5 separate regions of the Homo sapiens genome follow, and regions 1, 2, 3 and 4 are each linked to region 5. Evidence: promoter capture Hi-C in 16 types of primary human blood cells and fetal thymus (Javierre and others, 2016). All regions are on one chromosome and are shown on one strand. Each heading gives the region's core, a stretch centred on a gene start or on the middle of the fragment in contact. The rest is flanking DNA. Distances are from core to core; before and after follow the strand shown. Region 1 overlaps PIKFYVE (phosphoinositide kinase, FYVE-type zinc finger containing). Region 2 overlaps PTH2R (parathyroid hormone 2 receptor). Region 3 has its middle 31 kb from the start of PTH2R. Region 4 overlaps PIKFYVE (phosphoinositide kinase, FYVE-type zinc finger containing). Region 5 holds the start of RPE (ribulose-5-phosphate-3-epimerase).

Evidence for each region. The method cuts DNA at HindIII sites, captures the fragments that hold promoters and counts their contacts. A CHiCAGO score of 5 or more calls a contact.
Region 1: a fragment that was not itself captured here is called in contact with the fragment with the promoter of RPE in region 5 in 12 of 17 cell types (M0 macrophages, M1 macrophages, M2 macrophages and 9 more); the score reaches 20.0 in M0 macrophages.
Region 2: a fragment that was not itself captured here is called in contact with the fragment with the promoter of RPE in region 5 in 1 of 17 cell types (M0 macrophages); the score reaches 7.0 in M0 macrophages.
Region 3: a fragment that was not itself captured here is called in contact with the fragment with the promoter of RPE in region 5 in 5 of 17 cell types (M0 macrophages, M2 macrophages, M1 macrophages and 2 more); the score reaches 21.8 in M0 macrophages.
Region 4: a contact is called between a fragment that was not itself captured here and the fragment with the promoter of RPE in region 5, in 2 of 17 cell types (M0 macrophages and monocytes). The highest score is 9.1, in M0 macrophages.

The regions. Positions count from the first base shown.
Region 1 is chr2:208,354,504-208,360,648 of GRCh38, reverse strand. It overlaps PIKFYVE (phosphoinositide kinase, FYVE-type zinc finger containing), which reads right to left. Exons shown (of 42, transcript NM_015040.4): 41 at 6,004-6,078; 42 at 1,903-5,459. The coding sequence ends at 5,344. It also overlaps a transcript of PTH2R not described here. Among named protein-coding and RNA genes, the nearest start is that of PTH2R, 49 kb to the left of the region's middle. The HindIII fragment of the contact is 3,331 bases long and covers 2,718-6,048 here.
Region 2 is chr2:208,473,339-208,478,642 of GRCh38, reverse strand. All of the region lies in intron 9 of PTH2R (parathyroid hormone 2 receptor), which reads right to left. Among named protein-coding and RNA genes, the nearest start is that of PTH2R, 69 kb to the right of the region's middle. The HindIII fragment of the contact is 4,948 bases long and covers 1-4,286 here.
Region 3 is chr2:208,372,910-208,378,911 of GRCh38, reverse strand. It overlaps a transcript of PTH2R not described here. Among named protein-coding and RNA genes, the nearest start is that of PTH2R, 31 kb to the left of the region's middle. RefSeq lists an enhancer at 1,301-2,101. The HindIII fragment of the contact is 7,209 bases long and covers 1-4,982 here.
Region 4 is chr2:208,338,203-208,343,632 of GRCh38, reverse strand. PIKFYVE (phosphoinositide kinase, FYVE-type zinc finger containing) reads right to left here. Exons shown (of 42, transcript NM_015040.4): 29 at 5,065-5,125; 30 at 4,078-4,215; 31 at 3,502-3,622; 32 at 984-1,079. Among named protein-coding and RNA genes, the nearest start is that of PTH2R, 66 kb to the left of the region's middle. The HindIII fragment of the contact is 7,637 bases long and covers 1-5,430 here.
Region 5 is chr2:209,999,721-210,005,643 of GRCh38, reverse strand. RPE (ribulose-5-phosphate-3-epimerase) reads right to left here and starts at 3,006. Exons shown (of 6, transcript NM_199229.3): 1 at 2,861-3,006. The coding sequence starts at 2,982. RefSeq lists enhancers at 2,738-2,907, 2,948-2,997. The HindIII fragment of the contact is 5,690 bases long and covers 982-5,923 here.

The sequences.
Region 1 (6,145 bases), core at 3,134-5,633, 1.6 Mb after region 5:
TGCTTCCGGGTGCTGTTTTACCCTGGCGCTTGGTGGGTGGCTGGATGGACAAAGCCAGGTAGAGCCGGCAGCGCGGCTTGCGGCCCGCCAGACTCCAGAGCCCCGAGCGAGCGAGAGGGCGGCAGGGCCCCGGGAGCGGCCTCCACTCGCCGCACAAGCACAGTCTCAGCCGGGTCTGGCCCAGAGCTGCGGTTCTGCGCCCCAGGCATGCCCAGCGCCTGAGGGAGGACCTCAGGACCAAGTAACCTGCGAGGAGCACGCTGCCCTCATCCCAGCTGCCAGGGAAGGGGCCCCGAGGGGCTCGGGGAGGCCGCCGCTCCGGGTGTGGCGAAAGTTCCTAGGGACCAGTAGGAGACCCCGTAGGGGCTGCTCACGCAGAAGGCGGGAGAACAAGTGGGGCGCTCTTCTTACCTGTTCAAGGAACCTGTGCCTTTTTCTTGAAGAAATGCTTTCATTTATCGTAGAAAAAGAAGAGAAAAGAAAAAGCACTATGCTGGTGACAAACTGCTTCGAAGCATAAAAAGGTCATTTTCGAGGGAAAAAAATCATTTTTAAAAACTCTCCGTTTTTAAAAATATTAACCCAGGAATTTTATCAGATAATTCCTCTCCGACCCAAAAAACCTGTGGGTGGATAGGGACTGGAGAGCAGGCTGCCTCCCAAGCCCCATCCGCTCCTCCCGCCCAGCACGAGAACGTGGAGGAAGTGACTGGGCGCCCCGCAGATCTGCCACCTCCCGGTCTCCCTGCGCAGCTGGCCACCAGCCCAGCCTCCTGCCCAACCACCTCTCAGGGTACGCTCTATCCAGCCACCCTCGCCTTCCCCTGCAGGAACCCAGGCAGGGGGCGGGCCTCCCGGCTTCCTGCCCACAGGTGTGAGTTCCTGTGGGAGGGAAGCCTCCCCTCACGTAGTGGACCTGTGGTCCCTCGGAGCACGGAGGCACTGGCAGCGGAGAGCCCTGCCCACCCACAAATTCAGCCAATCGCAAATGGAAGAGGGCAGGACTTCCTTTAGTGCCCTATCAGAAGAAAGAAGGGGAATGCTGCTTGCCCAGTATTGGCTGAAATGAACTGTGGGTTTACCTTAAGTTACGGATTCTCCAGTGGTTAAACAACCAGGAAGAGAATGAACAGAATGAACAGAAAGCGACACTGCTAGGCCAGGTGAGGCAGAATAGTCTGGAGGCAGGGAACCTAAGGCCGATTCACACTGACTTTCTAGAACTAAATCAAAAGGAAAACCCCAACTTTCTACATCTAAGTAACAAAAGGACTGGAATACTCCGTTTGCAAGCACCCTCTTCCCTTTTCTGCATGGCAGACGGAAAATTGAAAGCATCTCTGATTGGCTGCTTTCTGCAACCAGACATTGGCATAGGAGTGTAACTTTGTAACTTCACTTCAGCCTCTGATTGGTTGCTTTCCACAACCAATGAGATGCTTGCATAGGGTGTAACCTTTGTAACTTCGGCCTCTGACTGGTTGTTTTCCACAACGACACTTGCATAGGGTTTAACCTTTGTAACTTCACTTCAGCCTGATGGGTTGCTTTCTGCAACCAATCACACTGATTGCAGGCCACTAATTAATTTACACAGGGTGTACACCAACTAACCAATGGTAAATCCCTAGAGGGTATTTAAACCCCAGAAAGTTCTGTAACGGGAGCTGTTGTGCCCCAGTGCTCCTGGGCTCCTACTCTGTGGAATGTACTTTCGTTTTCAATAAATCTCTGCTTTTGTTGCTTCATTCTTTCCTTGCTTTTTGTGTTTTGTCCAATTCTTTGTTCAAAACGCCAAGAACCTGGACACCCTCCACCAGTAACACAAAGACTAGGCTTGCAGGACAAACTCCATTTCCTTTTGTTGTCAATTTCTTCAAGCAGATTCAAAACTAAGTGGAGTAAGTAGATTCTGAGTTTATTGTTAAGATTTCTTTATTTACAGTACAAGTCTCCAAAAGTTCAAGGCAGTTATCTTTTAAATAACATGTCAATCATATAAAATAGCTAGAACCAAAGTAGAGAAATATATACAATACATTAAGTACTTTCAATATAGTGGCATTTTTCATATTAAATTAAAAGAGGCTACTATGATTTACAATGTCATTTCCCTAGTTTAAAATTCAACATGTCAAAAGACATAATGTACATTTTTTACAAAACTGACACAGCAGTATTAAAACTGCTAATGATTGTAGTTTTTATTTTTTCTATAATACACTGCACCTGTGTTACCAAAAAAAAAACAAAAACAAAAACATTGCACTAGATGGTTTGAATACTGCATAAGTCAGTATATTAACACTTGAGGAATAATGAATGGCCTGGTCCGTTTTATGATCAGGCTCATTCACAACAGTTTTCACTCTTCAAGCTCAGCAAACTCCTACAGGTAATTACTTTCCTTGGCAGTTTTACACAGGATCACTGCAAATGGGTAAAATGTCATGAAGCTGATGACCACAATGCCATCACAAAAGCTGATATCGATATAACCCTACTATTTACAATACCTAATAAGAGCCAAAGCTAGAAAATCACTCACTGCTAAATCATGGAAAAAATTATAGTTTGTAGGAAATTTTGAATATCTATAAAATATTCAATAGACTACAAAAGAGCTTGCAACAGCTTGTTCTCATTATTTTTCTTAGGTCAGAATTAGAAAAAAGTAAATCCTATTTTTTAATAAGTTTTGATGGCATCAAAAAGCTTCACATTTATAAATAAGATTTTTATACAAAGCAACATGTTACTGACATAGTTTTCTCTTGCTACTATCAATTATTCTCGGGACTCATGTTGTATGTTAAGGAAGGAAGTATTAAGATTTCTTCCTCATTCCTAAATTTTCAGAATATACTCTAGGCCTTGAAGGAAAGGGAAACAGTCATTCAATACTTAACACTGAGTAGTACAATATTTGAAATATATCTATGATAGTGGCCTAAACAAGAGCAGCAAGGGACCAGACATATAGTTCTACCACTCAATAGAAATAAATTGTATATTTCCCCTTCATTAATACTGTCCAATTTTAAAATGAGAGATTACCTTTGCAAGGCAGCAACTATTGTTTCAGAATGTATTATATTGAAAATTTTTGCCACAAAGTTACCTACTAGACTACAGTACTTTAAAACACAGTTGTTCAAGTCATGGGCAAGGAAAACAAAATCAACAGGACAGATTATTGTCAGAAGCCATTCCTGTGGAGCATTCCTGCTATGCACATAGAATTGAAACTAAAAACAAAGAAACAACCTAATTGCACCTAGGGGGAGACACCTTGTACTTCAAGTGCTCATGACTAGGGGAGTACAGGAAACAGACAGGAATAATAACCTTAAGTATCCTCACAGAAAAAATGAACAGAGACAAAACAGTGTTGGCATTTTAAATCAGATACAAAATCCATTGTTCCTAGACACAAAGTAAGTTAATAATGTTCCACATTTATTTTTTTACCTCTGTACAGCTCCTTTAATAGTCTTTGATTTCAAAACTAAAATCCTCAGTGTTTTGTGTATCTTCAAAAGGCACATACACGTTTTTAAAAGGGGCCAAGTGGAACTTAGCATCACATTAGTCATAAGTCCTTGGTCAACTTGCTTCCAGTTCAAAACAAACCACATTTTTAATAAGCACCAAATACCAAACTACTGCCTTGATTCTCTAAAGCAAATTTTCCACAATGTTCCTAATTCAAGTATTCATCATACTGTGTAACTGAACTTGTCCAGATTTCTTATTATGTGAAGGTTAATGTGCTATTATTATAGGCAGTCCAAAAACAGTGAAATCCTTACAACTTTATAAATCCCTAAATTATCCTTGTTACAAAAAGAAGTCAAGAGGAAATATTCTGGGGTTACAGTATTTCCTCAAAGATAGTTTACTACTTCTGATCACTTTTTAAAATAAACAAAAATGCTATTAAACAAGAAGTTCCTTACTAAGAATAACTTTCTTTTTTTGTTTCGTTTTGTTTTTTGAGACAGTCTTGCTCTGTTGCCCAGGCTGGAATGCAATGGTGTAATCCCAGCTCACTGCAGCCTCCGCCTCCCAGGTTCAAACAATTCTCCTGCCTCAGCCACCCAAGTAGTTGGGGTTACAGGTATATGCCACCATGCCCAGCTAATTTTTTGTCTTTTTAGTAGAGATGGGGTTTCGTCATGTTGGCCAGGCTGGTCTTGAACTCCTGACCTCAGGTGATCTGCCTGCCTAGGCCTCCCAAAGTGATAGGATTATAGGCGTGAGCCACCGCACTTGGCCTATTTCTTAACATTTCTTAGTAGTCAGAACTAGCCATTATGTAGAAAGTTGGAAAAGGGGATGTCCACAGTAGAAATTTTTTATTTTATAGATGCCACCTAAATTGCTGGTTATATTGAAAAGACACTTTACCTCTGTGAATAAAACAAGTGTTTCCTTCTCACTCAATTTCTTGGATTGGGCCTAATTTATTTTTTATATTTCAAAAATCTTTCATTAATAATTATTCCATTAGGGTTTAGTAACTACAGACTCATTTACTAATGATTTACTATGATACCCTAAAAATAGAGAAAAAACCCTAGAATATGAGCGTATGCAAGTAAGTGCAATTTAATATATGAATTGCACAAAAATTTTAAACAAGTTTTAAAAATATCTCTAAAAGGAGGCTTAAAGTTAATTGCTGTAGCCTCCTGTCTTCCACAGAGAAGACAAAATTTTAAAAACATCAAACATACTCAAAAACAGGCAAGCTGGAAAGATAAACAACATGACAGGATTCCCAGTTTAAGTCAAATTCCTCAATAAAACAATAAATGCCCACGTGTTTAACCGGCCATTAATGGAATAAATCAGAATTTTTGTAAAGGTTTCAGAAATTCTGATAATAAGTAACATTAAATTATTACAGAAAAACACAAAACAAATTCAGCAGCTCTACAAATGCTTTCTAAGTAGATAACATGTTAAATGTGATGCCAGGATAGTCAATTTATGAGACACTGTTTTCTTCTTAAAACAATTAAGCTAGCAAATTTAACCCATTTTTCACCCTATCTACTCATCTCCAACTTTAGCCCTTTGAAACATGTCTGTATTTTAGCTTAAGAAAATTTTCATGCCACTTCCCAACCTACAGACAGCTCCACAGGTATCAAAAACCAAAGTGCAAATTCATGGAGTTTTACCATTCCATTACGGACAGTCTAAACAGCCACAGAACTGAAAAGCCTTGGCATACAGTGGTGAACACGATGAAGAAATAAAACATGTAGCTTATTTTTGGTCCTTTGTTCCTGTCCCCTTTTCCTTCACAGTCCATTTCAAAATATGTGCTTGATTTCAGCAATTCAGACCCAAGCCTGTCCAGTGGTCTGGTACCATTAGGAAATACTTGTCCATTGCCTCACAAAACCTAGTCCTGTACAACTCCGGAGACACCACTGTTGGCATTTTACCTGAGATTATGAAAGAGAAAAGGGGGAAAAAGCTGTTATATAATTGATTGGGCAACTGAAGTCAACTGACCATGTTCTTTCATATAAACTGCCATAAAGATACACATGCAGAAGCAGTCTGAGTGGGCAGGAAAGGTTATCTGTTGTGCCACATGCCATGGGACAAAGTCCTACCTGGTACGAGTTTCTGTTTAAAAAGACTAGCTCCTGCCTAGAGATGAGCGATGTCTAAGAGCACAAATGAGGCTAACAGTGCTTAGAGAACTTGGAAGTCTCAAGTGTTAATTAAAGACAATCTCTTATTCAGAACATCTGGCTTTTTAAAAAATCTTTTTGAGAACCTCTGACATTTTAACACATATTTACACCCAATATTTCCCCACCTATATAATTCTCATTATTGTTTGGTCACTTTAGAAATGACAATGAAATCAATGATAACCACTTATTTTTTACAACTAAAAAAAAGAATCAGTATCCACTTTTAAAATTTTAACTGATAAGAAATACATGTGAACAATTTAAACAAAACAAAAATTCTCACCTTGTCCACCTAAAATTCCTGTTGATTTCACAACCATCTCAAGCTTTTTGTCCCATGTAAATGTTCGAATATAATCTGGGGGGTAGAAGGAGTGAAATTAGCAATAAAGCTATGTTAATAAATATAATCAAATGACAACAGC
Region 2 (5,304 bases), core at 563-3,062, 1.5 Mb after region 5:
TATAACCAAATTTTAAAATCACTATTAGAACAAAAAACAGTAGATCTGACAAAGCAAGAAAATGAATTCAGCAATTTAGGAGACACCTGAAGAATCCTCCGAAAGGGAGGGAAAAAGAACAAAGACTTGAGAGTTTGAGAAAGGGTGTTCGAGTGAGGATGTGGCCAGGGATATAAGAGTGGAAATCGCTACACTTTTGGCTTTGATGATGGAGGAAGGGACCAAGAGTCATGCAATGCCAGTGGCCTCTAGAAGCTGAAAAGGATAAGGACTCCCCCCAGCACCTCCAGAAGGAAGGCAGCCCTGCTGACACATTGATTTTAGGACTTCTGACTTCCAGAACTGTAAGAGAACAAACGCATGTTCTTTTAAGCCACTAAAAAAAGAAAAGAAGAAGAACAAAGACAGCTGTGAGGAGGTATATGAGGTATAAGATGCCTATCTGGAGGATGTGGCAGATTACTTCTTTTTCTGAAGAAAAGATAACAATAGAATAAATCAATAAAAACATAACAGAAGAAAAATCTTGCACTAAAGGAAGACTTGAGTCTGCAAATGGGAAGGTGACATTTTATACCAGGCAAAAGAAATAAAAGAGAATAAGACAAAGAGGAAGTTTCTGGTGAGATTTTAGTAGTAGTAGTACTAGTACTAGTAGTAGTGCTAGTAGTACTAGTACTAGTAGTAGTGCTAGTACTACTAGTAGTAGTGCTAGTACTAGTAGTAGTGCTAGTACTAGTAGTAGTGCTAGTACTAGTAGTAATTTTTTTAAATTAAGACATAATTCTAAGAAAAAAATCATTAAAAGGTTCTTGTGTATTTCATGTAAACTTCATGTAGGAAAAATTTTGCTTGAAGCAAACTACAGACAAAACAAAGCAAAGAAATTTAAAAAAAGAGAGATGGCTTAGAATAACATGACCTTTAATAAACATTAAAGCCAATAACACATAGAATGAATTTTTTGTAAATATGGTTTTAAAATAATGCAAATATAGAAATCAAATTATTTTGCAATTAAAGATTCATTTTTTTAATTCCAATAGTTTTGGGGTAGAGGGGTTTTTTTTTGTTACATGCTAAGTTCTTTAGTGGTGATTCCTGAGATTTTAGTGTACACATCACCTGAGCAGTGTACACTGTACCCAATATGTAGTCTGCAATTAATGATTTAAATAAAAGTAAAGATTTGTTCAGAGTGAACCACAGATGAACTAAAACAAAGAAAACATTTCAGCCATGGAAGTGCCGGCTGCTCAGGCTGTCCTGTCTCTGAGACTTGGTTCCTGGAGTTTTCTTTGCCTGGATCGTTTACTCTCTCCACTCATTCGCCCTTCCTAGCCAAGTTCTCAGGGTTCAGGCTGAATGTCACTTATTCTCAGAAGCATTTTTCATGTTTAAATGTTAGTCTCACTCACTAAACTTTAGCTGTGGGAGAAGAAATTCATGTCTATCTTCTCCTCTACTCTCTCCTCTCCATTGCCTCACACAGGGCCTGCAATGTTCTTGGTGTTTAATCAAGATTTGTCCAATGAGAGTGAATAAATAGGCAAATGAGATATGCGTGCTCTAAACACTACTTATACTGAGGTAAATCAGCACATCCCCCTTCAATGTAGAATTTTCACTTCTAGGCATAACTCGCAAAAGATGTAATCATTTAAAGAAGTCAAAATTTAGGCATAGAAAAGGTAACTTGCAGTGAGCAGACTTTCTCTGCAGCGTCTCCAGGGATAGGAGCCTACCCTTCAGCATCCTGTGCCCAGGTGGGAAGATCCTGACTAATTATGGGGTTCTTCAGTGGATCCACTTGTCTAACTGAGCTAGGGTCACATCATCCACCCCAGCCTCCCGCAGCAATAAGGTTCTCCCTCACTCCCTTACTTTATATCTTAACATGTTTAGAATCAGGGCAGCCAAGAGAGATGCTATGTGTTAGTTTCCCTCAGAGACACTCTAAATACATCATATCTGCTCACCCCATGTATTGGCTTATTTTTCAATATCACAAACATAAGAACTTTTTTGCTTTGTTTATTTGCATATTGGTACTAAATGCTGAACTTTTACATAACAGGTAATAAACTCCCTGATCTCTATCAAATACTATAATTTGATTATCTGTATCACAAATATAAAGACAAAATATATAGTTCATTTCTAATCAGTTGGAATTCAATTTATAACTTGGAGACAGTTTCTATGGCAAATGTTAGAGCTTTAATTTCATTTAAAGTTATATTTCTAACTGACTTAGAAAAGAAAAGGAGTTCTGAAGGGGAGATTTTTCTCTGGGGGAAAAATCAATTTGGTATTTATAATTGTGTCAATGATCAGAGATTAAATTTTATCCATTTTTCTTAAAATTCCTTCCTTCCTAGTCAACCCTTGTTTTTGGTGACTGCACCTCTCCCTGCAACTGGGAGAAAATGAATCACTCACCCAAGAGCAGCTGAGAAGCATGTACCTTGTTTGTCCCTTTCTTTTCATATTTTGAAAAGTGCACTAGATATAATATTTTTTAAACTTATCACCTAAAATATTTCCTAAAGGCCTTTACTAGAAATACCATCTTATTCCTTCTGCCAGAGCTCCCTAAGATACCTTGGGACAGGTATGCAAAACAAAACATTTATTTAAAAAAAATTTAGCTCAGTATTTAATGCACTCTATGTAGTATGCAGCTTCCTCAGGAGTCACCTACTTGCTTAGTCATTCAATGTCATTCAATATTCAAATTTGATCATTACTGATACAATGAGCAAACCCATGATAAACACCACAAACTGTTTATTGACCAGAAAGATTAGTTCTTAGCTTGGATACACAATGATGATGTGAGGCATGATGAAACAAACATCTAAAAGTAAGTAAATATATGCCAATAAAAAGTGACCTGAAAAAGAAAGAATCTCCACTGCCCCATATATTCCTAATACCCATCAACATCTCTAATGCAAACCACAAGGTGTCAGTTACGTTAGTTCTCTGGAGGGTTATTTAAAGGTCAAAATCTCTGCAATAATGTTGTCAGATAAACATTGGACAAGATATCCCCAAAATGCTTCCCAACTTGAACATTCTTTGATTCTATGAATTATTTTTATGGAGTTGCCAGAAAAGGAACTACTGCCTGAACTACTGCAAAAAATAAGCATATGAATTCTAAAGTCTCAATGAGTGCCAGACCCTAATTCCCTAATAGGTTTTATGGTGTGTTTGTTTTTTTAATGCCAGTTAAGGGTTGCTTTAAACACTGAGTTTAGGATTTTCTCTTTTATTACTCCTATTCTGTAAGCATAGCTTAGATGTATGTACTATAAGAAAGGTGACCCTGGAAGAAATTTCTATTATTCAAATATAAAAGATATGTCATTAAATTAGTTATACATTTACATTTTATGACAATATTTACCTTTTCTTGGTTCTTTAAAAAAAAGTTCTCCTTGTTGCATTTTCACATTTTAATTCAGCTAAGATGAATCAACTCATTATAAAGGAAAATATTTTGAGACTTTACAGCATCTCCAAAGAAATGGATTTAAATGAATGGAATATGTGGGACTAACTCTCATCAAATAGCAAAAACCATGGATTGCCATCACGCTTGCTGCCCAAGCTCACCAGCTGCTGCAGCACTGATCTCCTTCCATTACTCACATCAGCAGCTGACAGTTATTTACAGTTGTTACCATTTTAATAAAACTCTTTAATTCCTGTCTCTTTCTTAGAAGGTTGCATCAAGAGTACAGTCTCTCATACAGATGTCAGAATCAATCAAACAGGACTATGCACTTAAAGGTGAATAGTACCTCTCTTAGACATTTGCGTCTCCAAGCTAGTTCATCTTCTCCATCCATCATAACACCTCTAGAGTTTTCTTTTTAAAACCCAAATCTGACCCACTTACTAACCTGCTTAAAATATTTTGATGTCTCATCACAATTTTAAGGAAAATTCCAATGTGCTTTAGCATGACATGTGAGTCCACTCCCATCAAACTCCACAGTCTGATCTCCTGCATATTCTGCAGATGCATTGTTCCTTCCAGCCATAGAAAACATAACATGCCCACTTGGCATGGGCTAATCTCTATGCCGGGAAAACCCTTCTCTGCGCTTTACCTATTAAGTGATTTAGGTAAGTGATTTCTAGTCTTCCTTTATAATTTTAGTTCAAATCTCACCTTCTTGGTGTTTCCTTTATTAAGCCCTCCAGACAGAGTTTGGTGTTGTCTCTTCCCTATTCTGAACTTCATGATGGCGTCAGAAAGACTTGGATAAGCTTATATCACTACTACATGAACCACCATTTCTGTTACTACACCTCTACTATTACCACGCTACCACTAGTAGTAGTATTACTGCCGTATTATAGGCTACTATTTACTGAATGCTTTTCATAGGTTATATTAAGCCCTTTAATAATCTTACATAGTCCTCCTAATAACCCTATGAAGTAGATATTACAATATCCAATTTCCTTTTTAGAAAACTTCATTTTAAAAGGGGCTAAATCATAGTACAGTCAGCAACTGGTTAAGAGTTCACACAGGATTCATACACTTGTTCACACAACTACCAACCCTATAATAAAAACTATTATGAGTTGCACCTCCTCTGCTAATGACCTGTATGACCTTGGATATGAGTTTGACTGCTTGTAGACTAGTAAAGTTAGTAAGACTCAACAAAATCTAAGATACCCCCAGCTCCAAAACCCTATAATTCTAAGTCACATACTTCTCTGTGTGCCGGTATTGTCAGTTATAAAATTGAAACAATAATATGGATATATTTATGCCAGTTAACTATGAAGAAAACTATATTTTAAATGATTGTAAGGTACCTACATGTGGCATGCTTATCATATAATCTTATGATCCACTATAAGTAATATCATTAAATATATATTTATATTTTCATTCAGCCAATATTTCCTAGGCACCAATAAAGGTCAGGCATTCTAGGAAAATAAAAGAATAGATCATCCCTCCCCATGAGGAGCACACAGGGAAGACAGAGCTAGTAAGTAAAATGCAATACGGTACACTTCTAAAGTGTCTGATCACATGAAACACAACTAGCCTCCCACAACCATGTGAACACCCACTGCTTACACTGGCCAGGACTTTTGTGTAATTTCAGGTTTCATTGTTAAAGGAATTTGTCCAGTCCAGTGTTCTCCAAATAAGTCATTTAGGGTGCCATCATCATGATTTTGCCATATTGATATTATTTACCTACTATTGCCTACTTCATATCTTTCTTCAATCAACTTTCATTAAATTATTAAAATTCATAT
Region 3 (6,002 bases), core at 129-2,628, 1.6 Mb after region 5:
CTATCATTATTCCCATATCTAACACAAGTAAACCGAGGCTCCAATGAAGGTAAATGACTTGCCCAATGTATAACTCAGGTGCACTGTCCTCCTCTTGCCTACCGCCTGAGTCCATTCAGGCTGCTATAACAAAAATACCTTAGACTGGGTGACTTAAACAGCAAACATTTATATCTCGCAGTTCAGGAGACTGGGAAGTCTGAGATCAAGTTGCTTGTAGATTCGGTATGTAGTGAGGGCCTGCTTCCTGGTTCACAGACAGCTGTCTTCTCGCTGTGTCCTCATAGGGTAGAAAAGGGTGAAAGGGCTCTCTGGGGTCTTGCTTATAAAGGCATTAAATTTATTCGGGAGGGCTCCACCCTCCTGAGCTAATTATCTCCCAAAGGCTCCATACTTCCTAATACCACCACTCTGAGGGCTAAGATTTCAACCTATGAATTTTGGGAGGAACTACGGAAGGCAATCATCTATCAATCTTACCTTACATATTGAAAGAGGCATTTTTCTCTCCCTCTCCCTCTCCCCACAGTCTCCCTCTCCCTCTCTTTCCACGGTATCCCTCTGATGCCGAGCCAAAGCTGGACTGTACTGCTGCCATCGCGGCTCACTGCAACCTCCCTGCCTGATTCTCCTGCCTCAGCCTGCCGAGTGCCTGGGATTGCAGGTGCGCGCCGCCACGCCTGACTGGTTTTCGTATTTTTTTGGTGGAGACAGGGTTTCGCTGTGTTGGCCGGGCTGGTCTCCAGCTCCTAACCGCGAGTGATCCGCCAGCCTCGGCCTCCCGAGGTGCCGGGATTGCAGACGGAGTCTGGTTCACTCAGTGCTCAATGTTGCCCAGGCTGGAGTGCAGTGGCGTGATCTCGGCTAGCTACAACCTCCACCTCCCAGCAGCCTGCCTTGGCCTCCCAAAGTGCCGAGATTGCAGCCTCTGCCTGGCCGCCACCCCGTCTGGGAAGTGAGGAGCGTCTCTGCCTGGCCGCCCATCGTCTGGGATGTGAGGAGCCCCTCTGCCTGGCTGCCCAGTCTGGGAAGTGAGGAGCGCCTCTTCCCGGCCACCATCACGTCTAGGAAGTGAGGAGCGTCTCTGCCCGGCCGCCCATCGTCTGAGATGCGGGAAGCGCCTCTGCCCCGCCGCCCCGTCTGGGATGTGAGGAGCGCCTCTGCCCAGCCGCGACCCCGTCTGGGAGGTGAGGAGCGTCTCTGCCCGGCCACCCCGTCTGAGAAGTGAGGAGCCCCTCCGCCCGGCAGCTGCCCCGTCTGAGAAGTGAGGAGCCCCTCTGCCCAGCAGCCACCCTGTCCCGGAGGCAGGTGGGGGGTCAGCCCCCGCCCGGCCAGCCGCCCCGTCCCAGAGGCAGGTGGGGGGTCAGCCCCCGCCCGGCCAGCCGCCCCGTCTGGGAGGGAGGTGGGGGCCCGCCTCCACCCAGCCGCCGCCCCATCCGGGAGGTGGGGGGCACCTCTGCCCGGCCGCCCCTTCTGGGAAGTGAGGAGCCCCTCTGCCCGGCCACCACCCCGTCTGGGAGGTGTACCCAACAGCTCATTGAGAACGGGCCATGATGACGATGGCGGTTTTTGTGGAATAGGAAAGGGGGAAAGGTGGGGAAAGGATAGAGAAATCAGATTGTTGCTGTGTCTGTGTAGAAAGAAGTAGACATGGGAGACTTCATTTTGTTCTGTACTAAGAAAAATTCCTGTGCCTTGGGATGCTGTTGATCTATGACCTTACCCCCAACCCTGTGCTCTCTGAAACATGTGCTGTGTCCACTCAGGGTTAAATGGATTAAGGGCCATGCAAGATGTGCTTTGTTAAACAGATGCTTGAAGGCAGCAGACTCGTTAAGAGTCATCACCACTCCCTAATCTCAAGTACCCAGGGACACAAATACTGTGGAAGCCCGCAGGGTCCTCTGCCTAGGAAAACCAGAGACCTTTGTTCACTTGTTTATCTGCTGACCTTCCCTCCACTATTATCCTATGACCCTGCCAAATCCCCCTCTGCGAGAAACACCCAAGAATGATCAATAAAAAAAAATTAATTAATTAATTAACTTAAAAAAAAAAGAAAGAGGCATTTTTAATTGAAGAGGATAGGAGTGGGAGCACATAAGAGGGGCGGATAAAAGAGGGAGTGACGTGCTGCAGAGAATAGAGCCCACATATAGGAATATGTCCAAGGCATGTGCTCAACATTACAAGATCAAGAAATAAAATGATGTGTCATTGGGTAGAAGCTGGGTTTTGATAGATGATTTGGATGTGTGCTTTCTTTTTTCTTACTCTTATTACTTAATTGTGTGGGCTAGGAAGCAAGTTCAAAAATAATAGCTAAAACCTTGTGGATACTCTTAAAAATCAATTTACATAATGTAAATAAATTTCTGCTGATCAATTCATGTGGTAACATAAAATTTTAACTTTAAAAAAGGACTAGTTTTACAAAAATATTTCATCTTCAATCAAAGCCTATTTGACGAAAATCACATATTTGCCAACCCAGATGTTATTTATATATAAAAACACACATAAAAGTGCAACAGTAGGTATTTTAATTTAAATAGGAACTATTTTATAACCTATAACAATGTGGATAAGAAAGTTCCTTCTCAAGTTTCCCTGGTTCGTTTCCTTTGTAATACTTTGTAAAGTGCTAGTTTACATTTAAAAAGCCTAGGATTTCAACCAATACAGTTTAACACTATATTATCTTGGCAAAAATGCCATCATTACTGACTGAAAAAACACAGAAATACCACGAGGCTAAATGTTAATGGTATGGTAAACTGGCATGCTGTTACACTGTGAAATGGCAGTGAAGCATTTATTAATTCCTTTTAGAATTGTTAGTGCCTAAATAAAAGGCCATGCCCAGGTTACCTGATGGGTATTTATTATGTGTGTGGGAAAGAAAGGAAAGTCTGAAACCTATTTCGGCTTCATGGAGAGCTAGAAAACTCTTCCTATTCATGATAGGATGGGAACTCAGAATGCTAAAGAAGTGCTGGAGACATGGGCATTTTGTCATCCTCTCTGGAGCCAGCTCTCTCTTACTCCCTACTCTGCTGAGCACACCACTCTCATGACCCAGCTTCCCTGTCAGTTCCTCCCTCTAGTCTCTGGTTATACACACAGAACCTGCTTCTACTGCCTTCTCTGGAAATCAAAATGACCAAGAAAGAGAATCTGATTAGATTCATAGGCATCATCCAACATGGAGCCTTTCTGTTCACATCACATCACATCACATCACCTCACAGGCTGCTGGGCTCTGGTACATCTAGACTATGCAGAGTTGCTCTGGGGATAAGAAAGTGTTGGATCACACAGAAGAAACTGCTTCTGGCCACTTTATTCTAAAGGGAAAACAAGCATGTCAAGTTCCTTGCCTTGCCTCTAGTTCAACTATAAAAAGAAATGTTAGCAGAGTCAAAAATGAGTAAAGATAGGTCGTTGCCTTCACAGAGCAGACAGTTTCAAATTATTAATAATGGGCTTTGAGTGGAATGACATTTAGGTGTCTTCACAAGAGTTTTACATTGTCCTTCTACCTTAGCTAATAGAGCCTTCTTCTCTGAGCAATACAGCCTGTTCCCTTCTCAAGGTACTTGAAATTAAGTGTTCAAGCTAAACTTTCTTCTCCTTGAGGTTCACGGGGGGATTCATTACTTTACAAAGAGACTGCATCAAGTTTACATGTTAAAAAGAAAACATCCTGGTCTCAGATGGCTTATAAAATAGATACTAGAAAACAAAGATTTTTGCAACCAACATAACTCTCTGAAATTAAAAAAGTAAAAACAAATCTCATCTCTAAATTCACTTAAATATCCTTCAAATAAATCAACTAATTTTTGTCATGTTGCTAATTAAATATTCTCTGAGAATGTTTACCTGTGTCAACAAAATAGACCTCATCAGTCTTCACCTCACATCTTATGATTATTTTACATCCAGTGCCACCACTAAACTGCAAGCTCCTTGAGGCTAGGAGTGGCGTCTTTCATCTTTGCAGCACCGGATCTAGCCAAGAATACGTGTTCAATGCATGTTTTTTGATTGAATGAGTGAAGGTCTTTCCTGGTTTAGTTGCTTTTAAAAATAAATGTCATTTGGGCCGGGCGTGGTGGCTCACGCTTGTAATCCCAGCACTTTGTGGGGCTGAGGCAGGCAGATCACCTGAGGTCAGGAGTTCGAGACCAGCCTGGCCAAGATGGCGAAACCCCATCTCTACTAAAAAAAATACAAAACTTAGCCAGGCGTGGTTGAGGGTGCCTGTAATCCCAGCTACTCAGGAGGCTGAGGCAGGAGAATCGCTTGAACCTGGGAGGTGGAGGTTGCAGTGAGCCAAGATCATGCCATTGTACTCCAGCTGGGCGACAAGAATGAAACTCCATCTCAAAGTAAATAAATAAATGTCGTTTGAATTCTAAACAGTAATCGATGTGCATTTAGGCTATTAGATTTCAAACAAGTGCTAAACCAAAGATGACCTTCACAGGAGCAATCATTGAGGAGCAGAAGGCAGACTGCAATGAGTAAGCAGAGTTAATGTGAGGTAGCAGTGAATGTGGTGTACAACTTCTCAAAGTTCTACAATAGAGTAAGTAAAACAGAAGTTAAAGGCATAGGAAAAATAAGGGGTACTTTTTGGAGAAAGAGTCAGCCAAAGACAGGAGAGTGATGGATCAAGAGTAAAAAAGAACCATCGGAAATGGCAGCATATTCTCTTTCACTTGTCTGTCTTCTAAATTTAGAACAGTTGTTCTTTGAATTGAAGAAATGTGAAAGTATTTTGATAGTCAAAAAAAAAAAGGCAAAAAAGACCCTCCCACTTAATGTCCTTAAAATCAAAGTCTTTAAGGTGGGGCTATTCCTATATGCAGTATAGTCACTTATTTTTACAAACAGCCTTGAATCTACTATTTCAATGATATAGGGACAAAAATACATAAAGCATATGAAGTGTATTTGCTTTCAAGTAAAAAGCTTTTAGTGCCAGTTTCATTTGGAAAAAAGCGAATTATATTCTGGAATAGAATATATTAAACTATTTCTAACTTAAACCTCCACCTCAAAACTACAAATTCTGAGATGTAACAAAGTATTGTCAAAGAATAACGTAGAAGACATTTAGGGCTCAGATAAAGATGTTTGGGATTGAGCTCCCTTAGTCCCAGTGGTCCTTCCAGAGTTTCCTCTGCTCCAGATTAAAATGTGGAAATTTTAGAATTAAGTACTTCACAGCCCTCTAGTGGCCACTGCTCACCACTGCAATTTAAATTTGGATCATCTTGACTCCAGCAATCTCCCTGCAAATACCCTCTTCCTCCAACAGTATGAGCAGGGACAATTGTTGCAGCATCTTGCTAAGTGCCATATAAGAGCAGACAGTGTCCTAAAGGTGAGAATTCATCAAGTTAAAAATTTCCTCCACCCTGGCACACATATTTTTGTAAATCTGAAATTTTTTCAATGCAGCAAACAGCAAATGACAATCAGAGCAGGCCAAATTCAAGACAACTAACTCCAAGGATGCACTAAGGGACATTACTACAGCAATATTATCTCTTCATTGCTTTTATTTTTCAGTTTAACAAACCAAAAAAAAGATTTACAAAAAGAAAAAAATTCTTTCAATAGGTGAAAACATCAGAAACAATTCCTAGGCCAGCAACTACTCATTTACTCATATATCTCACTTTATGGCTTATCTGTTTCAAGACACTTCACTTCACTTAGCTCTCTACTTATTTTTCTTCTCTTTTGTTTTAGCCAAAGACATAAGAATACATGTTATAGAATATAAGTTTTCATTTATTTATTTATTTATTTGAGACGGGGTCTCACTCTGTCACCCATGCTAGAGTGCAGTGGTGTGAGCTTTGCTCACTGCAGCCTCCACATCCCGAGCTCAAGCGATCCTCCCACCTCGGCCTCCCAAGTAGCTGGACCTACAGGCATGTGCCATCACGCCTGGCTAATTTTTTGTATTTTTGGTGGAGACGGGG
Region 4 (5,430 bases), core at 2,380-4,879, 1.7 Mb after region 5:
TTAACATATTTAGAAAGAGAGACAGCACATTCACATAACTTTTGTTGTAGTATATTATTATAAAACTGTCCTATCTTATTGTTGTTGTTCATCTCTTACTGTGGCTAGGCTAATTTATAAATTTAACTTTATCATAGGTATGTATGTACAGGAAAAAACATAGCATTTATAGGGTTCAGTACTATCTGTAGGTTCGGACATCCACAGGGGTTCTTAGAACATATCCTCAATGGGTAAGAGGTGACTGCTGTTTTCTAAGTAGAAAAATTTTACCTCGTATGTAGGGTAGTAGAAAATGAGTGAATGGTACAAAAAAGATATTCAGATTGTACAAGGCAGGATGCTCCAAGTACTATGTCAACAAGTAAACTGAGAGAAGGGATACAAGGGAAAACATATTTTAACAGAATGGATAGAGGATTCAAGGCTCAGTAAATAACTTGCCAAGTCAATTTAGTTATTAGGAGCTTACTTAGGAATCATCCTATACTTCATTATTTGGGTTCAGAGAAGATTTTTATGCACAAAAAGAACAAGCTGCCAGGCATGGTGGCTCACGCCTGTAATTCCAGCACTTTGGGAGGCCGAGGTGGGTGGATCACCTGAGGTCAGGAGTTCAAGACCAGCCCAACCATTATGGTGAAACCCCATCTCTACTAAAAATACAAAAATTAGCTGGGCATGGTGGTGTGTGTCTGTAGTCCCAGCTACTCGGGAGGCTGAGGCAGGAGAACTGCTTGAACCCAGGAGGCAGAGGTTGCAGTGAGCCGAGATTGCACCACTGCACTCCAGCCTGGGCAACAGAGTGACATTCTGTCTCAAAAAAAAAAAAAAAAAAGAACAAGCTATCACGACTAAAGAACATATATTTTTGCTTATATTTAATCATTTTGCTTTATGTGAAAGATTCCAAAAATAAGGGATTAATAGACATACATAAAATACATAGATATCATCATAAGTCAAAGTCCCATGAATAATACCTGAGAGCAAAAGCAATGATGGAGCTGGGTTCCTTCTCGCAGACTGCAATGGGCACTCGTTCATGTTCATACATTAAGTAGTGTTTATCTGGATCACTATGCAAATTTTTAAAATACATAAGTTAACTAAGTACTCTAGAGTTAAGAATATAATTAAGAAAGCCAAAATGTATGCAGATATGATAACCTGAATCATTAGGAAAGAAAAAGATTTCAAGAGAAAGTTTTTGAAGGCAATTAGAAAATTATCAGAATTAATTAGGTTTCAAATCAGAGAGTTCTGCAATAGTCACTCCAAACAAACCTTTCCATACTGCCAAGACTCTGGCCACACTAATCTCAAAAAGAATTTAAAATGAACAGCAGAAGTCTAAAATATTTTGTTCCATTACAAGCTAGAGAGAAAAAGTCTTCTAGAAATTGTGGAGAAGACATACTACTAGTTCAATAATAAACAATGCAACACAACCACTTTACTATTATCACACAAAAAAACCCAGTGTAGCTCCATTTCAACTTAAATTTTGCTCCCCTGACTCCGACCCTAACTCACCTAGGCACTGTTAGGCACAGTCATTTTTAATTTAGGTGCTACTTACTGAACACCAAACATGCCAAGGATACAATATGAAGAAAAACTATTTTTAAGGATCTTACATGTGTAAGATGTTAACAATACAATGGCGAAAAAAAAAATTGGCACCATAGGGTTTATAGTGTAGTGGGGGTAAAGAAACAGATAATCCAATAAATAAATAAATATAATCTCTGTGGTAAGTGCTATGAGGGAATTGCTACAGAATGAATGTTTACCCTCCCAGCTCCCACAAAATTCATATGTTAAAATCCTAACCCCCAATGTTATGGTATAAGGAGGTAGGGCCTTTAGGGGGTAATTTAGGTCATGAGAGTGGAATACTCTTGAATGGGATTAGTGTCCTCATAAAAAAGACTGGACACAGCTCTCTCAGCCTCCTTCCACCACATGAGAATACAAAGAGACAACAGCAATCTACAACCCAAAAGAGGACCCTTGCCAGAACCCAACCATGCTGGCACCCTCATCTCAGACTTCTAGCCTCCAGGACTGTAAGAATTAAATTTCTGCTGTCTACAAGCAACTCAGTCTATGGTAATTCATCAGAGCAGCATGAACGGACCAAGACAGGAATCATAAGAGCATATAATAGAAACCTACTCTGACTGGAGCAGGAGGTAAGGGGGAAGGTCTAGTAAATTCTTCTTAGAAAGAACAGGACTGAATGATTAAAAAAGACTGTGTTTCACAAAAAGTGGTTTAGAGAGAAGAGAAACAAACAAAAAGAAAAAAACTATATTAAAAAAAAAAGTTTAAAGGGCCGGGTCCAGTAGCTCAGTACTTTGGGAGACAGAGGTGGGCAGATCACCTGAGGTCAGGAGTTCGAGAGCAGCCTGGCCAATATGGTGAAACCTCGTCTCTACTAAAAATACGAAAATTAGCCAGGTGTGGTGGCGCACACCTGCAGTCCCAGTTACTTGGGAAGCTGAGGCAGGAGAATCACTTGAATCTAGGAGGCAGAGGTTGCAATGAGCCAAGATCACACCACTACATTCCAGCCTGGGTGACAGAGGGAGACTCTGTCTCAAAAATAATAAAAATTAAAAAAATAAAAATAAATGTGAGAGCATGAACAAAGACCATAACATAAGAGGGATCCAAGCCCAATCAAGAAACTGATATAATCAGGTCTAAAGTAGAGAAAAAAGGGACCTTTTATATTTTACTGTCATGTAACATATCACATACTGTACTGTGAGCCCTAACTGTATCTTCCCAAAGATTATGAGCTCCTAAGAGTGATGACAGTTCCTTACAAATCTTATTCTACATCACAGGACACTTAAACAGGCACTAAATAAAAGTTTAAATACTGATTGAATAAATATGTAAGTCAGTTAATAAAATAAAAGGCCTTATTAACAAAAATGTCCACTTTTTGGATATACTTGTTCCATAACAAGGGCAGCATTTGATAGCCACATGGGTCAACCAGTGGAAGAAAAATAAACTTTCACAGCCAGCCTATATTCTTTCCAAATTTGAGTGCACCCCATAAAAAAAAGATCACATGAAAACTTGTACAAGTCACTGTAGTTCATCATCAGTGCTAGGACAATGCCATGTCCCAGCAAATCAACTACCAACCTCATATATAACCAGCAATATGTTTTTATAATTATTAAATCAGTGGATATAGCCACATATCTTTGAAAAAAGATAAACAAACAAGTGTTTCCAGAACAAGTAATTCAAACATTTATAAGTAACACTGGCTAGTGCTTTATCCACTCATCTACTATATCATAATGATTATATATTCTACAAATTACATTGTATCAAAAGACATCTCTTTTACTAAAATGAAATAAAATTTAGGATTGAAAAATCATGCATCAGATAAATATATTTAAATATGAAGCGAGCAACTAAGGAAAAATAACCCCCCTGCTAAGAGCCACTGGTTTTAATAATACTTACAAAGGAAATGGAATAGGATTATAGCTATTTCCTGGAAGCAAATTTGCAAAGATGGCTTTCATGGTTGACTTTTCCTTCACTTGGCTGTCTGTGGATCCCAGCAAATGCCCATCAAACACATCTAAAATGAAAAATAGTCTACTTATATATTAATATTCACAGAGAATAAGAAGTATAAACTGCTGACTTTGGTTCTTTTCCTTTCGGAATATGGACATATGTATACTATACCAATAACAGTTTAAAATTTCTGATCAAGGGAAAAGACCACTATGGGATAAAACAGGAAACAACAGTGAAGCATACACAGCATGGACTCCAAGGGACACTTGTTTTTTTTAAACATCTCTGAAGCACTGTGGCTATTACACCCGAGTTAAATAGCAATTTTAAAGTTAATTTCAAAGTTTATACTATAATTTAAGTAGTTACCACCTAAACAGAAAGCAAGGCATGAATCTGTTATTATGAAGCAAATATCTGTCCTTAGAGAAATGGCTGTAATTCATGTAAATCAATGATATATCTTTCAGTCTTAGATACAATGAAATATGGTAAAAGTGACTTAACCTCTACCTTCGGAACTGCTGGCTGTATCTAGCTCAGGGGGCCCTCCCACTGACTGTTCAGACATGACTTCAGGTGGCGTAGGCAATTGGAGATGAGTAGAACTGGTGGAGCTCTGGCTGGACAAAGTTGTTAAGAAGCGATCCTCTAAAGAAAAACACAATCTTAAATGAGTCATTTACATACATTAAGTCCATGTCTACCTAATATTTTTTAAATGCTCATTCATATGCCTACTTCCTAAAAGGTAGAATTTTTACTTTTTAAAAATCATCTAGGTCATATAGCTCATGTCATAGAAATGGACACAAAAATCCAGAAAGATTATATATGACTTGACTACAATCAAATCCTGGTAGCAGTACCGCAACTGTCAACCAAGACTGACTCCTATCCAACACGCTATCCATTATACCACAATGCCTACCTAAATATTAGTTTTTAGTTTAATAGAGAATGAAATTAGGACACTCTGAGAAAGACGGCATGCTTATTCTGGGAGAGAAAAAGCAATTATAATAGAAAAATGCCAAGAATTGTAAGTTGAGCTCCTGGTTCTACAGTCTATGTAAATTTCCCCACAAAGTTTCTATGATGACACCAAGTTATTCAATGAAATACTGTGAAAGACATCTTAGGTCTAGACAATATTTTAGTGACATTAAAAATGTAAATTAAACTTTATAAGATTTTTGCAATGAAACCTGGGGATTGACTTTGTAATAAGCAAAAAAAATTCAATTTACTTTTTTCTGTTTTTTCTTCCCCTAATAGCAGCCTTCTTTATATTTCATGTATTTCTATAACCTGATTTATCTTATTGCAATACACTATATGATAATCTTAATCTGATAGGATTACAAGTGCTCTACAGGAAGGAAAAGAAGTCTATGAACAACAGCATCGGAAAAACTGCTCAAACAGTTTAAAACAACTTATACAATAAGAAATTTCTTTAAATCCTACGGCAAGTGATCACCAGACTCAAGAACCAACCTTTTTCTCCATTCTGAAGTCCTGGAGAAATATTCCGTGGAGATGCATCCATCGCACTTATCTGTAGAGAAGTAAATACTTTGTTCTTATGGAAAACATGAAAATCACATTCAAAAAATTTTTTAATCCAGTGAATCTTAAACTTTTTGGTCTCAGGACCCATTTATACCGTTAAAAAATTACTAAAAACCCCCTTAATATTTTTAATTAGCTTTTGTTTACCTTAGAAATTTTTACCTTATTAGAAATTAAAACAGAGAAAGTTATTAAATGTGCATGAACTCATTTATAAATAATAAACCCATTAATATAAGTAACATTTAAACACGTAACATACCGATTTTCTAAAATTTAAAAAAAAAATTG
Region 5 (5,923 bases), core at 1,757-4,256:
TTTTTTTTTTTCCCCCAAAAGTCAGAAATGCAGTATTAATGTGAAATCGTCCCAGTTTTAAATCCTGGTAGCGAATTTAGAAATTAATTCTTTGCTCTGTTCCCATGGTTAGGATGAACACATTCTAGTCACTGTCCTGTCATGATGCATTTATGTGTTTTCTAGGGTTTTTTTCCCCCAGAGAATCCACTTGTCCTTTGTTTCACATATCCAGTCATGCTAGTGCTCCACCTTCCACAGTATTCCCCAGACTGGTTTCTGACTTTCTAAATGAAGAAATTCAGTTGTAATCAGGGGAGAAATTGGAGGTCTTAGTGGGGAGGAGACTAGAAAACAATAAGCACATCCAAAGTGTAATGTTGGATGAGATTTTTAAAAGGGGCCAGGAAAAAAAAAACACGAAGGCAGTCCTGGGAGGGAAGGGACATTGTGGCTGGCCACATTTCAAAAAGGAGTCCACAGCCCACTTTCATAGCCCTAGCCTAGTAGACACCACAGCACATCACGTAGGGGCACTGGCACCAACTCTGCCAGGCTCTGCTGAATCTGGTGAGACATCAGGGAAGAAGCTGAATCTCCCTACACTGGTTTCCTCCTTTGCAAAAGGGGAATAGAAACAGCTCTTAACTCAGAAAGTAGAGAAGATTAAAAGGGAAATAATTTTAAAATTGTGTATGCAGAATTCAGTTTTTCCAAACCAAAGTATCTCCTGGCAAAGGGGAAGAGGAATCAATAAAAAACAAATACTTCATTTTTTATTTTTTTGTTCCCAAAACTCTGATCCATGGTAAATACTTTGCCTTACTGAGCTCAGTCTGCCATAGAGCTGCAAGGGGACAAAAGTGACTTCTGAGAGACTTCTCCTATTATGATTAAGCTATTCATTCATTCGGCCAACAATAACTAAGCACCTTATGGTGCTTTTCCAGCAAAGAATATATAGGTGAGCAAAAAGAAGATAAACTTGGCTTTCAGGAAGCTTATAGGGTAGCAGGAGAGACATGAAATAAGTTAACAAAAATAAGTATACAGTTAACAGAAATAAATACACAAATTATTAGTTGCTTTTTTGAGGCCAAACAATGTCTTAGTCATTCCCTGTAAGCCTAGGAACCACAGAAAGCATTTCATTTGAGACAACACAAGCTGTTGCATTGCTTCCAACCCTGGCTCCACCATTTCCTAGTTATGAGACCACTGGCAGATGACTTAACCTCTCTGTGCCCAATTCCTCGCTGTCAAATGCTGGTGGTAATAACACCACCAATTTCAAACGGTTGTTTGAGTTAATTCACAAAAAAACTCCAGAACAGAAACAGTCAAGTGCTCATAAACATTGCTACTATGGTTATCATTAATAATCCTGACTGGTGAACCGAAACAATTACTTTCCCCAACCATTAACTTACTCAAACATAGTTTAATTAAAACCAAATTGCTCAAATAGACTCACAAATATACACATAGCTGTTCCATCCTGTGACCCTCTAGGTATTTTCTCAGGCACAAAAATGTAGCTACTTACCTTTGAGGTAGACACTCAGGGTATTATTACCTGTGACAGTTTAGGGCTTTCAAGCAAAGATGTCAAAAATAAAGTATATAAGTATAATTACATATAATGGCCAATTAAAAGCCAACCTTTGTGAGAGGTAATATTTACTAAACTTTTTACACATTTGGCCTATTATTTTTAGTACTCTATGGTCAAAGTTTTGTCATTATCAGTTGGGTGGACTCCTAAGGTAACTGGGTAAAATGCCAAAGAGAAACAATACATTTAACCACATAGAGCAATGGAAGATAAAACTCTTCAAAGCCAGATTAACATTAAAAAGAAAAGGAAATCATCACCTTTAGAAAATAACACCAATTTGCAAACTGAATGAGGGAACACAGGGTTTTTACCTATTTAAAATAAATTTATTTTTCCATCCCCACTCAAGATAATGGTATTTATGATTTTTATAGTCAGTTAACAGTGGGGCTCAGAGAACTACTTGGCAAACCTAGGAAGAGCCAAGTTGCAAGTCTGTCACAATCTTCTGTAATCTTGAGGGAGTCTTACTGCTTTCTCTGGGGTTGTTTCCTCATTCTGTAACCAACTTCAGAAACTAATATCCTGACTCCAAACAATATTATGTGCTGTAACTACGGTGCTTAAAAATTACTTACAAAAAACTGACCTCCCTGAAGAGCAGGGTGCCTGAAGAGAAAATAGACAGGAAAATCAGAATTGTAATAATGATGTAATTAACAATTATAGAGAACTTAATATACGCCAGGCACTGTAAACTTCTCATGTACTCGCTCATTTCATCTTCCAAGATGCCTAAGCGGTAGGTTCTGTTAGTAGTTCCATTTTTCAAATTATGAAACTGAAGCTCAATGAGGTTAGTGGCTTGTCCAAGGTAACCCAGCAAGTGGCAGAACTCGGGAACCTAACCGCAGGTGCCAACTTAAATCGTTAGAGAAGTCTGTTTCCCCAGCTTTGCCACTAACTAGCTATATGAGCTTGGGCAAGTCATGCTTCTCCCCTTGGGCCTCAGTTTCTCTAGCTGAAAGTGAAGAAATGTCCTAAAGATTTAGGTCGCTTCCGGGTCCTAAGTGATGGAAGACCACACGTTACGTGGGGGGAGGGGAGGAACTGAGGTTTGGGACCCGGCCGCAACCCAGGATACCGCGTCGGTTCTGCTCCTGCTAGAGCCTCCAGGGCTCCTACCCCACACCCCTTCTAGCATCGCGTTCAGAGTGAGGCGCTCGGTGGTACAGGGACGCGGTACATCCAACAAGCAGTCAATAAAGGTGCACTGATCCGCCCCGCCGCGCGGCAAGCCCGACCGGAGCCCGGAGGAGTTACCCGTCCATTACGTCCAGGTGCAGATAATCGGCCCCAGAGTCTAGCATCCGGAGGCACTCGGCCCCTAAATTGGCCAGGTCGCTGTTGAGGATGGACGGGCCAATCTTGCAGCCCGACGCCATACCGCTGGCTCCCAAAAGCAAGTTACCCACGAGTCCCCGGCAAGGCTAGAGCGTCACCCCGATTGGGCGCGCAGTTTTGGCCCCGCCCCTTCTCCGTACAGGCTTCCGGATTCTACCGGAAGCAGCCACTCTGCGGTGAGGAAGTCCCGCCTCCTCCTGGGGTGGGGCGCTGTCAGCCGTCCGCCTGGGGCGGGGCGGGGCACACGGGCCTCGTACACCTGATTTTGACCTTCCTTCTTGTGCTGTTTGGATCTTAACGTCCTCGCAGTACTCAAGGCGTTTCTTAACCTTTTTTCACTTTGCTTCTCCTGCAGTTCCCTCTCCTCGGCTCTTGACTTAACATCACTTTTTGTTTCTCCACCCTTTGCATATGCCTTTCTTTCCTCTCCAGCGCCTATGCTGGCCCTTTAAAACAACAATTAAAAACCTTTCTTCCTCGTATTTCTCCTAGAGCTCTTCTTTTGAGCTGGAGGAACCCTGGCTCTGCCAGATACTAGCTGGGTGACCTGGCAAATCACTTCTTAACTTCGGTTTTCTCATCTGTAAAGACAGTGCCCAGCTTTAGGGTTGTATTAAATGAGTGAAGCCAGGTAATGCGCCCAGCAGGATGCCTGGTGCTCAGTACAAAATGGTAGTTATTATTATATTACCCTCTTTTTCTGCCTTTGCAGTTCCTCCTTACCTTTTTTGTTTTTCCCTCTGTTGAGGCTCAGAAAATGATAGCCCAAAGTGAAGGCCTCAGACGCAACAGTGTTTCTCTGACTTCCTGCCCTGCTCTCTTCTCAGTCTCATTCTAGGAGGCAGGTCATAGAAACTGGAGCCCATCTTCCCTAAGAAGAGTCATTGAAACCGGAACCCCCTTTCCCTGAAGCCAGACACAAAACCCAAAAGCATTACTCTAACTTTCCTCCACCTTTCTGTGTAAAAACTGGCCATAAATTATTTGACCCATCTCAACTGTAGGTTATAAAACTCCTCTTCTAGAGAAGGTTCTATCCCATATCCAGGAGGAGGGAATGCTGCACAGAGAGGCCAGGAATCTAAACTAGACTGGCCAAGGCCAGGTCAGTCTATTAGCATTAGATCGCCTATTTTGTCCAATCGTATTTCTACATGGCTGTCTATACTTTGTTGAACCTAAGTATAAAAATGGGTAATCACCCCTGTACCTTTGGGTCTTCATTCTGAAGGCTCCTGTGTCAGGTAAAACTATAATCAAATAAGTTTTTATGCCTTTTCTCCTGTTAATCTTCTTTCTGTCAGTGATTTTCAGCAAACCTTTGGAGGGTGAAGGGAAAGTTTTCCCTTGGCCCCTACACCTCTCCAATGCTCATTCACAAATTGTGATAGGTTTGTGTGCTGTTCACACACAGTTCAGAAATGGATGAGTATCCTGATGCTAAATGTGCCTAGGGTCAGGAAAAGAGACAGAAGTAAAACCACTTGGCGGGGATAAATGGACTTAGCAAGAGCAATCCTTAAGGGGTCAGAATAGAGCACTTGTACTCTGTGTAAAAGACGGAAGTGGTAACTTGGACTGAGAGGTGACAGCGTGCTGGCAGCCCTCGCTCACTCTCGGTGCCTTCTTGGCCTTGGCACCCACTCTGGCCGCGCTTGAGGAGCCTTTCAGCCCACCGCTGCACTGTGGGAGTCCGTCTGGGCTGGCCAAGGCCGGAGCTGGCTCCCTCAGCTTGTGGGGAGGTATGCAGGGAGAGGCACAGGCGGGAACTGGGACTGCAAGGCACTTGTGGGCCAGCGCGAGTTCGAGGTGGGCGTGGGCTCTGCGGCCCCGCACTTGGGTGGGCCGGCTGGCCTGCTGGCCCCGGGCAGTGAGGGGCTTAGCACCTGGGCCAGCAGCTGCTGTGCTGGATTTCTTGCCAGGCCTTAGCTGCCTCCCTCTACGGGGCAGGGCTCGGGACCTGCAGCCCACCATGCCTGAGCCTCCCCTCCATGCCGTGGGCTCCTGCGCGCCCAGCGTCCCTGAGGAGCGCCGCCCCCTGCTCCACAGCACCCAGTCCCATCGACCGCCCAAGGGCTGAGGAGTGCCGGCGCACAGTAGGGGACTGGCAGGTAGCTCCACCTGCCGCCCCAGTATGGGATCCACTGGGTGAAGCCAGCTGGGCTCCTGAGTCTGGTGGGGACTTGGAGAATCTTTATGTCTAGCTGAGGGATTGTAAATACACCAATCAGCACTCTGTATCTAGCTCAAGGTTTGTAAACACACCAATCAGCACCCTGTGTCTAGCTCAGGGTTTGTGAATGCACCAATGGGCACTCTGTATCTAGTTAATCTGGCAGGGACTTGGAGAATCTTTATGTCTAGCTAAGGGATTGTGAATGCACCAATTGGCACTCTGTATCTAGCTCAAGGTTTGTAAATGCACCAATCAGCACTCTGTGTCTAGCTCAGGGTTTGTAAATACACCAATGGACACTCTGTATCTAGCTAATCTAGTAGGAGAACTTTTGTGTCTAGCTCAGGGATTGTAAACGCACCAGTCAGCACCCTGTCAAAACGGACCAATCGGCTCTCTGTAAAATGGACCAATCAGCAGGGTGTGGGTGGGGCCAGATAAGAGAAGAAAAGGCTGCCTGAGCCAGCAGTGGCAACCGGCTTGGGTCCCCTTCTGAGCTGTGGTATGTTTGTTCTTTTGCTCTTTGCACTAAATCTTGCTACTGCTCACCTTTGGGTCCACACTGCCTTTATGAGCTATAACATTCACCACAAAGGTTTGCAGCTTCACTCCTGAAGCCAGCGAGACCACGAACCCACTGGGAGGAATGAACAACTCCAGACGCACCGCCTTAAGAGCTGTAACACTCACCGCGAAGGTCTGCAGCTTCACTCCTGAAGCCAGCGAGACCACGAACCCACCAGAAGGAAGAAACTCCAAACACATCTGAACATCAGAAGGAACAAACTCCGGATACGCTGCCTTTA